2 separate regions of the Homo sapiens genome follow, and region 2 is linked to region 1. The links are contacts of gene promoters, found by promoter capture Hi-C in human tissues and cell types (Jung and others, 2019). All regions are on one chromosome and are shown on one strand. The core of a region is centred on a gene start or on the middle of the fragment in contact, and the rest is flanking DNA. Distances in the headings are between cores, read along the strand shown. Region 1 holds the start of SNAPC4 (small nuclear RNA activating complex polypeptide 4). Region 2 holds the start of EGFL7 (EGF like domain multiple 7).

Evidence for each region. The method cuts DNA at HindIII sites, captures the fragments that hold promoters and counts their contacts. A contact is called where the count stands out against the background at its distance.
Region 2: the fragment with the promoter of EGFL7 here is called in contact with the fragment with the promoter of SNAPC4 in region 1 in 1 of the 25 tissues and cell types used here (mesendoderm cells).

Annotation. Positions count from the first base shown.
Region 1 is chr9:136,398,759-136,404,299 of GRCh38, reverse strand. It overlaps SNAPC4 (small nuclear RNA activating complex polypeptide 4), which reads left to right and starts at 4,130. Exons shown (of 24, transcript NM_003086.4): 1 at 4,130-4,166. It overlaps ENTR1 (endosome associated trafficking regulator 1), which reads left to right. Exons shown (of 10, transcript NM_001039707.2): 9 at 106-245; 10 at 1,413-2,378. The coding sequence ends at 1,512. RefSeq lists silencers at 3,683-3,732, 3,883-4,092, 4,163-4,292, 4,363-4,472 and an enhancer at 2,981-3,917. The HindIII fragment of the contact is 18,374 bases long and covers 1,823-5,541 here.
Region 2 is chr9:136,659,325-136,664,536 of GRCh38, reverse strand. EGFL7 (EGF like domain multiple 7) reads right to left here and starts at 1,621. Exons shown (of 11, transcript NM_016215.5): 1 at 1,429-1,621; 2 at 914-1,129. It overlaps LNCEGFL7OS (lncRNA EGFL7 opposite strand), which reads left to right and starts at 4,116. Exons shown (of 2, transcript NR_135132.1): 1 at 4,116-4,216. The HindIII fragment of the contact is 17,984 bases long and covers 1-5,212 here.

The DNA.
Region 1 (5,541 bases), core at 2,881-5,380:
CTTGAGTGCCAGGCCCCCACGGGTAAGCCCTCGCCTCGCCAGGTGGTGACTTTCAGCCGGGTTGCCTCGGAGCTGCTCTGTCCTTAGCCGTAACCGTCCCCCCAGGCGCAGGTCTCCAACTTCCAGCGAGAGAATGAAGCCCTGCGGTGCGGCCAGGGTGCCAGCCTGACCGTGGTGAAGCAGAACGCCGACGTGGCCCTGCAGAACCTCCGGGTGGTCATGAACAGTGCACAGGCTTCCATCAAGTGAGTGCCTGGGAGGCACCGGGAAGCCTGGCGGGGAAAGGGGTGAGATTGGAGTGGTCGTCAGTGATCCTGGGTGGGGGCCCAGGCTGATGGCACCGTGGCTGGAGGACCAGGGAGCTGCAGGGAGGGACGCGTGCTCAGTGGTCCTGTTAGCTCTCTGGGTCACTGTGTGGACAGACCACAGGCTTTCTAACCTGCCTCGCAGTGTCTGATCCCACCTGGGAGGTGCAGACAGCCACAGCACCCTGCACTGAACCTCAGCCCCACCCCATGTGGGCGCTGAAGCTCTGAATAAAGGAAATAGTGGGGGTTTCCCTCCTGCTGAAAAAGCCACTTCCCAGAAGGCCCTTACTGCTGTGCCTGGCTGGGGACACGCCAGCCACCATGACTGTGACAGTGGTGAGTGTCTGCCACCCATTGGGCTGAGCTCTGCAGGGCGGTGTTGGCCCCCAGAGCACTCCCTGTGAACAAGGGAGCCGTCTCCTGTGAAGTCAGGTGTGGGTCTCCTCCAAGAGGAGCTAGGAGTGGAAAACCTGTGGTTCTCCCCCAGCCCCTCCCTTTCTCCCAGGAACCCTGTCCCTTTCTTCCCCCGGCAAACCCCACCCCTTGCTCCCAGGAACCCTGTCCCTTTCTTCCCCGGCAAACCCCACCCCTTGCTCCCTGGGACCCTGTCCCTTTCTCCCCCGGCAAACCCCACCCCTTGCTCCCTGGAACCCTGTCCCTTTCTCCCCCCGGCAAACCCCACCCCTTGCTCCCTGGGACCCCTTCTGTTTCTCCCCCCAGAATTCTGTCCCTTTCTCCCTGGAACCCCTTACCTTTCTCCCCGCCAGAACCCTTCCCCTGTGGAATCCCTCCCCGCTCTGGAAACCCTCCCCTTCCTTCCCCACCCCCACCCCCGGAATTCCTCCCCTTTCTCCCCCTCAGAACCTCTCCCCTTTTTCTGCCTACCAACCCCTCCCCTTTCTGCCCCCCACCCCCTGTGGAAACCCTCCCCATTCTTCCCCCTGGAAACCCTCGCCTTCCTCCCACTCAGAACCTCTCCCCTTTCCCTACCCCTTGGAACCCCTCCCTTTTTCCCCCTACCAACCCCTCCCCTTTCTCCCCCCAGAACCCTGTTGCTGCTGAGTAGCTGCTGCCACCCATCCTGATATCCATGCTTGTTTTCAGGCAACTGGTTTCCGGAGCTGAGACACTGAATCTTGTTGCCGAAATCCTTAAATCTATAGACAGAATTTCTGAAGTTAAAGACGAGGAGGAAGACTCTTGAGGACCCCTGGGTGTTCTCAGCATGAAGCTCCGTGTATACCCTGAGGTCACCACCGCTCGATCTAAATGTGCAGTTGTGTCCTTAAATATGCAGTCTTCACCCAGAGTAAAGTGTTGATCGCAAGAGTCCAGTGTCGTGCCCTCAGCCAGTTCTTGGCCACCACAATGGGAGCAGCCCTGGCCGAGTTGTCTCTGTGGTTTCTATGCAGCCCTTCTTGGCGAAATTCCTGCGATCTTATAGATTCTAATGAGCTCTTGGAAGACATTGTCATAAAAGCCAGTGATTTTAAGAAAAAGAGTGGTTCTGGAATCAATGTTTTCCAGTCCCATCCCAGAACATCAGTTGTAAGATAAGTACAATTGGTTGTCCTTGATTTCATAAGTAGAACAAACACTAAATGTGCCTCTGAGATGGCCACCCCGGGCAGGGACCTGTGCCTTCCGCCGATGCTCAGGGCTCCCTCTGGCTCCCGGGTCACTCTTGTGGCCCCAGTGGGTGGTCCCTGCAGTCATGGCCTGAGTGCGCAGGGGCCACCGCGTGGCTGCTGCTGTCCTCCTCCGGGACCCACGGGGACCAAGGTCACACGTTCCGTGCTGTGAAGCTGTCCAGATGTGCCTCTTTGGCTGGGGGTTCTGGTGGACGTTTCAAGTGGCATTTTGTACAATGCAGGTTAGAATTCAGGAATTTCAAGTATGTGCCCGGGTCTGTCAGGTCCCAGTTGCCTTTCTGACGGCCCCCCTCAGAGGGACGGCGATGAGCACTAAATGCTTTTTTGACTATTTTCCTATAGATTTTTTTTAAAACTTTTTTTTCCTCCTGTTCCAATTGATAGCTTTCTTATTTAATAAATTCTGTAGTTCACCGCACTGTCTCTTCTCTGCTGACTTAGCCAGTCCTTGGAGAACGCCGTGGGCTTCCACACCTCACTTGCTCTTGCCCTAACTGGTGCCTTGTGCTGGCAGATTCTCTCCAGGTCCTCAGCCCTTGGGGTTAGGGGCAGACTCAGACCACTGCTGCCTGGGCCTGACCACTGGGACCCACACGTGATGGACGTGTGAGTCACGCAGCTGCACGTTTCAGAGCTGGACAGACTGGATTCTAGCATTGGATCATCTTTTCGGATCATGTGGTTGAATTTTTCAAACAAGGCGTCTGAATTGCTAGACCCCTAGCCTTAGCTACAGGTGAAGGCCAGAGCTTTCCAGCAGTCACTGTGGAGCGGTCCTGCTGCGTAGCCCTATGCGCCTCCTGCTCCTGCTGGTTGGTGAAAGCAGGCTCTGGATTCTGTTGGCAGAGCTGACTTGAGACAGGGTGCTGTGGTTGGGAAGTGCCGGAATGAGGTTCTGAGTGTATAGGCAGCTCTGGGAGCCCTGTAGCAGCAGGATGGGGGCATCTGGGGAGGATGCCTCAGGCCACAGGCCTTCCCTGAGGCCCTTTGGGAGAGACAGCATTTGATGGGGTGGGGGTCACAAAGGCCAGATCGCCAGGCGGGTCCCATCCACCAGATGCGTGTGAAGTGGGGTGGTCCCCTGGCCCTCATGCCAGCAGCTCATGGAGCAGGTGGGGCCCAGGGAAGCGCGGTGGGGATGGGCATGTGGGTTTTGCGCACCCCTCTCTTTTGATGTCTGTGTTTGAAGCGTTTGATAGTAAGAAGTTTAAAAATACAATTTGTGGCGCGGTATTTAGTGCCTGCCTTCTGCCTCCAGATTTCAAGCCCGATGCAGGGACTGAAACGAGGCGCTCGAGGAGCCCCCAGCCGCCTGGTTCCATCCCCTCCATCTGTTTCTTGCCAATCCCTAGCTCCCAGTTTGGCCTCACCTGGGCCTAGCCCTTTGCCACCAAAAGCCCACCTCCTAGGTAGGCAGGGCAAACCCTCTTTATAGTTCTCCAGCTGATGCCCCTAGCTCACCCCAGGCTGGAGTGGAGGCCCCCTCAACTGGCTGGGCCCAGGATGTCTTTGCAGCACCGATACTTAGAAGCTCTCAGGAGCCAGGAACTGTAGGCCCCTGCCCAGCTCCCGGCCGAGTTAGCCCTGGCACGTTCCTGAAGGAATGAATGCCCACTTAGGGGAGGGCCCCGGGGCAGCTCTCCAGGCCAGGAGACCCCAGAGGGTGTGCACAGGTGACCAGGGAAGCGAGTTTGTGTGGTGCGGGCCCCCACCCTCTGGCCTCAGTCTCCTGCACGTGCCTGGAGATCGGCCTGGCCTCGGCGATCCTGAGCATGCAGGGCAGGCTGGGGAAAAAGCCTTTCACGTAGACTTTCTCATCCGTTGCTTAACCAAACCCCAACATGTCCGTTAACAGAGGATGAAACAAGCACAGAGAGGTCCAGCGATGGCCGAAGGTCACAGCCAGTAAGGGCCGGTCTTCCGGATCGTGACCAGGTGGCCGGGTGCCTGTCCCTGTCTGTCCCCTGCCTTGAGGTCCCGCGTCCACCCGCGCCCCTCCAGAGCGCGCGGAGGCGGCCCCCAGGGCGGCCGCGCGAGGGCAGCATCGAGCCGTTCGCCTCTCTAGTCCCGGCAGGCCGCAGCGGCCGTCCCGGCGTGCCCCGCGCCTCAGGAGGCGGGACTTCCGGCGCGCGGCGCTCTTGTTCTGCAGCCGCCGGAAGCGTCGAGTCTGCAGTCGCCCGGGCGACGGCGGGGTCCGCGCGGCCAGGTAAGGTGTGCGCCCAGCAGGTGAGGCGCGGGTGGCGTCGGCAGCTTCAGGGCTCTCCCCGTGGAGGGGGCGCTGTCCCGAGGAGCGGATAGCCGAGGCCCGGGACGGGGGCGGGGCAGCGCCCAAAGTCGGGGAAACTGAGGCCCGGCGTGGCCCCCGTCCGGCCGAGCCTGGGCGCGCGGGGATTCTGGCCCTGGGAGCCCCTCGGCTGGGAGCGGGCTGCGGGCTCCGAGGAGGCTCCGGCGGGGCGGCCCCGGCTGCAGGGCGCCCGCGTGCGTCTCGGGGACTGCGCCGGCGATTCCGCGGTGGCCGAGCCTCGGAGGGGGTTTCCCCAGTTCACGCAGCGAGCAGGAGGCGGAACTGGGCCTGGGCCGGGTCTGTCTCCCAAGCCAGTGCCTAAACGCCCATCGTCCTGGCGCATCCTGGGGTTCCCTGGGCCCAGCCGAGTCTGGGTGGCGTCCCCGCAGCTGGGGCTGGAGGGACCGCCTGCTGCGCTCCGTCTTGGTGGGCAGCCCTCATGACCAGCCCTTGGGAGAGGGGTGCGGGGAGAGGGACAGCCCCTGATGTCAGTGGCTCAGCACGTGTGACTTTGACCTCCTTCCTGCTGATCATTGCTCACCTGAGCGACACGGGGAGGGGGAGGCAGCAGCCTCGTGTGAGGCTTCCAGAGGAAAGCGTCTCCGCCGGCCCGGAGGCGCTGAACCAGCCTGCGGTCGCTGCCAGCTCTGCCTCTGGCCGGCTGTTAACTGAGTTTACAGGTTCACAAGCATTTCGGGCATAAACAAGGGGCTTTGTGAAGGAGTGAGGGGACCTGGGCTGCTGATGCGGCTAACGGTGCTCGCGGGTGGATGCTTTGGTTTTGTTCCAGTTGGGCAGGGCCCCAGTCAGCCTCCAGCAGGGAGAGCCACGCCAAGGACGGGGGAGGGCGTTTCTCTTTGTTGTTGGGTGTTTTGGGCTCCCGGGTCTGTGCTAGTGATTCCTTTAGATTTTCTCTGCTAATGTTTCATTCTCCCACTCTCTCTCTAGCGTCCTTCTCCCTTCAGACTTCCTGGACCACAGTTCCTAAGAAAAAAGCTTGACAAACATTTGTTAGTGTCAGGCACTGCCACGTTCCAGGCGTTGTTCTGGATGTACAGAGAACAGCCAGCCTTCCCTTTGGGAGCTTCCTTCCCAACCATGCTGTTAGTGCCTGCCACCTGGGCAGTCTCAGTGTGTGTCTCTGTGAACGTTTCTCAAATGCCCTCTGTGGTCCGGCTCTGTGTCATGGGAGAGCAGGATGGCCAAAGTGGGTCACGGGCTGTGTCCTTGCCCTGTAGTGACTTTGCCACTGCACCCCACACCTTCTACGCTGGGTGGCCAGTTTCCATGTGGCTTG
Region 2 (5,212 bases), core at 372-2,871, 260 kb before region 1:
CCCATCCTGTCCTGAGCTGATTGTCCTCTCGGATCCGCAGCCCCTGGCCTCAGTAAAATGGGGTTATTGCCTCCAGCCCTGGACTCCCTGGCATGGGGATGGGAGGCTGCTGTGAGTGGAGCTGGAGGTCTCTCCATGTAACCCAGGGTGCTGGGCAAGGGGCCTGCAGATGGGTCCGAGAGGGCCACCAGCTTGGTCCTACCTTGGTGCATGGGAGCTGGAGGAAGGGAGGGGCCCAGGTCCCTGGAGAGGAGTCCCCAAAATGAGGCCGCCCCACCCTGCAATCCAGTGGCCACTGCTCTGGACCAGGGGCCCTGGAAGCCCCTGGCACGTGGTCCAAGGGACGACCAGAGCAGCTGCTGTCAGGGGGCGTTCCTCATCTGACTGGGGAGTCCTAGGCCTCCTGGCGCCCTGAGCCCACGCAGGGCAGCTCTTACCTAGCCCCCAGCAGTGAAGTGTTCAGAGTGGGGCCTAGGGGGCCTCTGGGTGGGAGAGCCACCGCCACCCTCCCTGTCCCCTGCCCCTGGCCTCATCTCTGGATCTGCGGTCACTTAACCCTTTGACCTGCCTCCCCACCTCTCCTGCCTGAGTCTGGAAGAGGCGATGGAGCAGAAAGGGCAGCTCCAGGGCTGCCCCGACTCAGCCCTCGCTGCCCCCATCCTGGCTAGGCACCATTTGGAAAGTGGGGGTTCTCAGACAGGCTTCTTGGTGTGGACGTATGAGACAAAAAGTGGGGCCTTCTAGGACCCACTGTGGTTTTGGGGGCTTTGGGATGGGGCTTCAGCCACTCTGCATGAGGCTGGGGAGAGGGAGAACAAGGGCGTCTCCAGGGTCCAAGGGGGGCCCACAGAGTCACCCATTTGCCCACCGCACCCAGCAAGTCATCCCTAAGCCCGAGCCCCACGTCCCGCACCCTGGATTCACACTGCTCATCCTGGCTACAGATGTGGCTTTGGGGTTCCTCTCCCTCGGGGCCAGTTCCCCTCCCCGGGCCCCCGTTGGGTTGCTCATCCACTGCTAGGGAGAAGATGAGGAGACCTCAGCCCTCGGGACACCGCAGGGCGTAGCGCGAAGCCCCTCACAGCGGGCCCAGCCAAGCTGAACTTTGCTGCCAACCACAGGGGCTGCTCTGCGGAGGGAGAGAAAGGCCAGAGGGTGGGGTTCAGGGGAAGGGCGACTGGGGGTGAAGTGTTGGAGTCAGCAGACTGGATTGGGATCTACGCTGGGCCACCCACTAGCAGGCGTTTGGCCAAGGGGCCTCAGTGGCCTCCTCTGTGCAGAAGGGGAGGAGACTGGGACCCCTCCCCTGTGACCTCGCTGGGGAGCAGATTGCGGAGCAGCCAGCAGGCGCCACGGTCAGCGGGAGTGAGGGGAATGGGGGGCCCGCCCTGTCCGCTCCCTGCCCCTCCGAGGCCACCCCTGCCATACCTGATGCTGCTGGAGCCCAGGCGTGGCCATGGTGGCCGCTGCTGTGTCCTGGGACTGGAGATGGACCCTAGCCCTTGCTGGGGCCTCAGGCCCACTGGCCGCCTGGAGGCACCTCCTGAGGCCCACCTGCCTGGCCTGTCCACAGGAGCCTCCCTTGCAGCCGTGCAGGGCCAGCTTGGTGCAGGGAGGCTCCCCCCGGGCGAGGAAGGGCGGCTTTTTATGCTCCGTCCTGGGTAATCGGGATTGGGATGGGCCCTTCCCAGCCGGACTTCCTGTGTGTGTTCTCCGCTGATAACGGGGACGTGTCGTCGGACAAACAGGAGGCTGAGGGGGGTGGGGGCCACCGTGTGAGGGGGCCTGGACAAACTGCCCAGGGGTGGGGAAGCCGTCCCCTGGGCCATCAGAGTCTAGCCCCAAAACAGCCAGAAACCAGGGCTGGACCCTGCTGGAGACCCTGGGGAGAGTGTGGGGTGGAGGACGCAAGCCCAGGGCCCTCCCAGGACCGTGGGTTCACAGGCCATGCTCACGTGTGGCTGGACAGAAGGGAGCTGCTGCATCTTTGGGCCAAGGATGCTGGGCCCTCCCCCAGGACACCCCCAGATGTGTGTGACACAGCACGGGAGCTTGGAGGGGCCCCAGGCCAAGGCAGGGACCAGCCACACAGGAGCCTTGACCAGTGAGGGATGGCGAGTGGCGAGGCCCGGCAGGAAGGGACTGGGGTGGCAAGACAGGCTGAGCGGTCCGAGAACAGCCTGTTCCGTGGGTCCCTGAGGCCCATGGTGAGGGGGTGACGGGAGGGGACAAGCATGGAGTCCAAGCTCTCTCCCCTAAAAGAGCTGCCAGTGAGGCTGTGAGCCCCTGCCCTGGAGATGGGCAAGCAGGCCCAATGCCCTCAGCCCCACTTCACAGGGGTGCTCTGGGCTGGCAGCAGGCTGCGGCCGGGGGTGTGGGGAGGGATGCGGGACACTGTGGGTGATCACAGGGGGTGCTCTGTCAGATTCCCGGCGTCCCAGCCTCCAGGTCTGACCCTCATCTTCCCTGTTCACACGGCAGTGGGAGCCTCAGGCCGAGCGAGCCACTGTGGCAAAGGTGGGCTGGGTGGGAGGGGACACGGTGCCGAAGGGAGCTGGGTGGCTTTGGAGGGCACGCCTGGAACCCCAGGAGAGCAGGGCCTCTCCCAACCCCGCTGTCCGTGGGGTGTGAGCCCTGCTTTGGGGTCAGCCCCTGTCGGCCTGATGCCTGGGACACCCCCATTTCCCTGGCCCTGGGCGGTCAGTGTGCCCCCACCTCTCCAGCCCCACTCAGCTGGGCAACTTGAGCCAAGGGAGGCTGGGGCAGCTGGGGAAATTCCCCACGGGACTTTGGAGGGCAGGTGGAAACCTCACCCACACGCGATGCGCCTCCCCCTCAAGCAGGAACCAGCTCCCCTCTACCCACGGCCAGGGGAAGGGTCTGCTCTGGGCGCCAGGCTGTGGTCAGGGCTCAGGGCCTCAGCCAGGCAGGACCTCACTCTTCTCCGGGCCTGTTTCTGCACCTGCTTCATGGTCACTGAGCTGGTTTAAGGGGGCGCTCCTGGCACCCAGGCACCGCTGGTCTGAGCGGGAGGGGCCTCTTTCCAGAGGTGGCCCCTGCCCTGAGGTTGGAGCAGATAGGCAGAACCCCATTTCCCCACCTCCTCCACACTAGGCCACCCTGGGATCTGGCCCTTACCCTACTGGCTGCACCCTCAGCCGCCCTGTGCCTCCCTCGGCCCCCTGGCTCTCCCACCCAGGGGCTCATCCTGCCCTGGCCAGCCTGTCCCTCCAGCTGTCAGGAGGGGGTTGCAGTGAAGAACAAGTTGGCAGCAGGCCGGGCCCAGTCCCCCAGGCTGTCACCCAGGAGTCCAGTGCCAGGAGGACAGCCTGGGGAGGACCCAGACTCTGCCCTCGCCCCTGGCTGTAAGCACAGCAGTCAGTTCACCGGGAAGGCCCCCAGCGGGCCAAGCCTTAGCAACTCGTGCACTCGGCTACTTAGCTACTCCACCGTATAGGGGCCCAGTAGGCTTGTGCCCCCATCCCAGGAGGTGCCCTCTTGCCCTCTGCCTGCATCCCTGCGGCCTGCCCCCTCCTCCCCCACCTGCATGCCCCTGGATCTGCCCTGGCCTCCTGGTGGAAGGACCCACAAGCATGGGGTGGGCTAGATCCAGCCCTTTCTGTGTACAGAGGGGGAAACTGAGGCCCAGAGGGAGAAGTGACCGGCCCAGGTGAGCCTGGAGGCCGGACAGGGCTGGGATGCTCGGCACAGGAGGCTGCCTCACCCTTCCTTCCTCTTCTTGGGGAGCCCCATGTCCCCCACCCCAGCTTGTCCTATGTCCCAACCTGGAGCAGCCCCTGTCATCAGACCTATCCGGCCAGGGGACAGCTCGGGGCAGGAATAGCTAAGTAGCCGAGTGCACGAGTTGCTAAGGCTTGGCCCGCTGGGGGCCTTCCCGGTGAACTGACTGCTGTGCTTACAGGCAAGGGGCGAGGGCAGAGTCTGCGTCCTCCCCAGGCTGTCCTCCTGGCACTGGACTCCTGGGTGACAGCCTGGGGGGCTGGGCACCGCCTGCTGCCAACTTGTTCTTCACTGCAACCCCCTCCTGATAAGCTCTGCCCTGCCCCCAGCCCCTCCCCAGGCCAAGACTAGACCCTCCCCAAGGGAAGGAGGCCTGGGCTCAGGCCCAGAGTGCCAGCTTTGCCCTATCCCATAGCCTGGAGCCACCACAGGAGGGGCACTCCACTCTCTTGGGCTCCTGGAGCCTCAGAGGCAGGTACAGGAGGTGGGCTGCGGCCTTGCCCTAATGTCGGGGGCCCAGCGGGGACAGGAGGGGCGGGGGGTTGGCAGGGGACAGACATGGGTTCTTGGACGCCAGAGGGTACTGGGGGTCCAGGGGGTTGGGGCTGCCCCCGGGTTCTGGTATGGGTGGAGCACACTCTGTGCCCAAGGCCCAGGGGCTCAGCAAGGGGCAGGCGGGCCCCTCCCTCACCCTCCGGTCCTTGGAGGTGCCCCCTTCCCTGCCCTGGCCGCTCTGGTGGTGTGTGTTTGGGATCATGGCACAGACCTTCAGCAGGGAATCATTTTGGGAGTCAGCAGTGCCTCCTGCCCAGGCTCCAGCCCCACAGAAGCCAGGCCGGGCCCCACGCCTGGCCTCCTCCCCTCACCTCAGGGGCCCAGCACAGAGGGGGAGACCTGGTGGGAGAGTGTGGCCACCCCAAGGCCTGCGCCTGTCCTCATCTGGGCACTGGAAGGTCTGGAGCCCAGGGCTTCACCCTGCCTGGGGTGGTGTCAGAGGTGGAGGCCCGGCAGGGGCAGGAAGCTGGAGCTCTGGTCCCAGCTTTGTGCCCCACACAGGCCTCAGTTTCCCCATTGTCTCTCTTGTCAGCAGGGCCATGTTGTCCAGTGGCCTTCCAGCCACCTGGGAATGTTCTGAGGTTAGTTATAAGGGGAAGGGCTGCCTTACCTTCCCAGAGCGTGCTGGCTGGGCAGAGAGGCGTGGAGGGGCCTGGCAGAGCCCCCCGGGCCCTCCCGGGCCTCCCGGACCCCTCACCAGGGTGCTTTTGGCCTCTGAAGCCCCAGGAGAGGGCAGACTAAGCCCCTGGCAGAGGCCAGCCTGGGCATCTCAGGTGGCGCGAGACAGAGGGGCACCAGGCGCGGCCGCGGGAGCCGGGCTGCAGGAGGTGCAGGAGGAGGGAGTGAAGCAGAGTGCGGGAGGGATGGGGCTTCCTGTTTACCCCGAGCGCCCCCCGGCCTCGGACGGGCTGGCTCT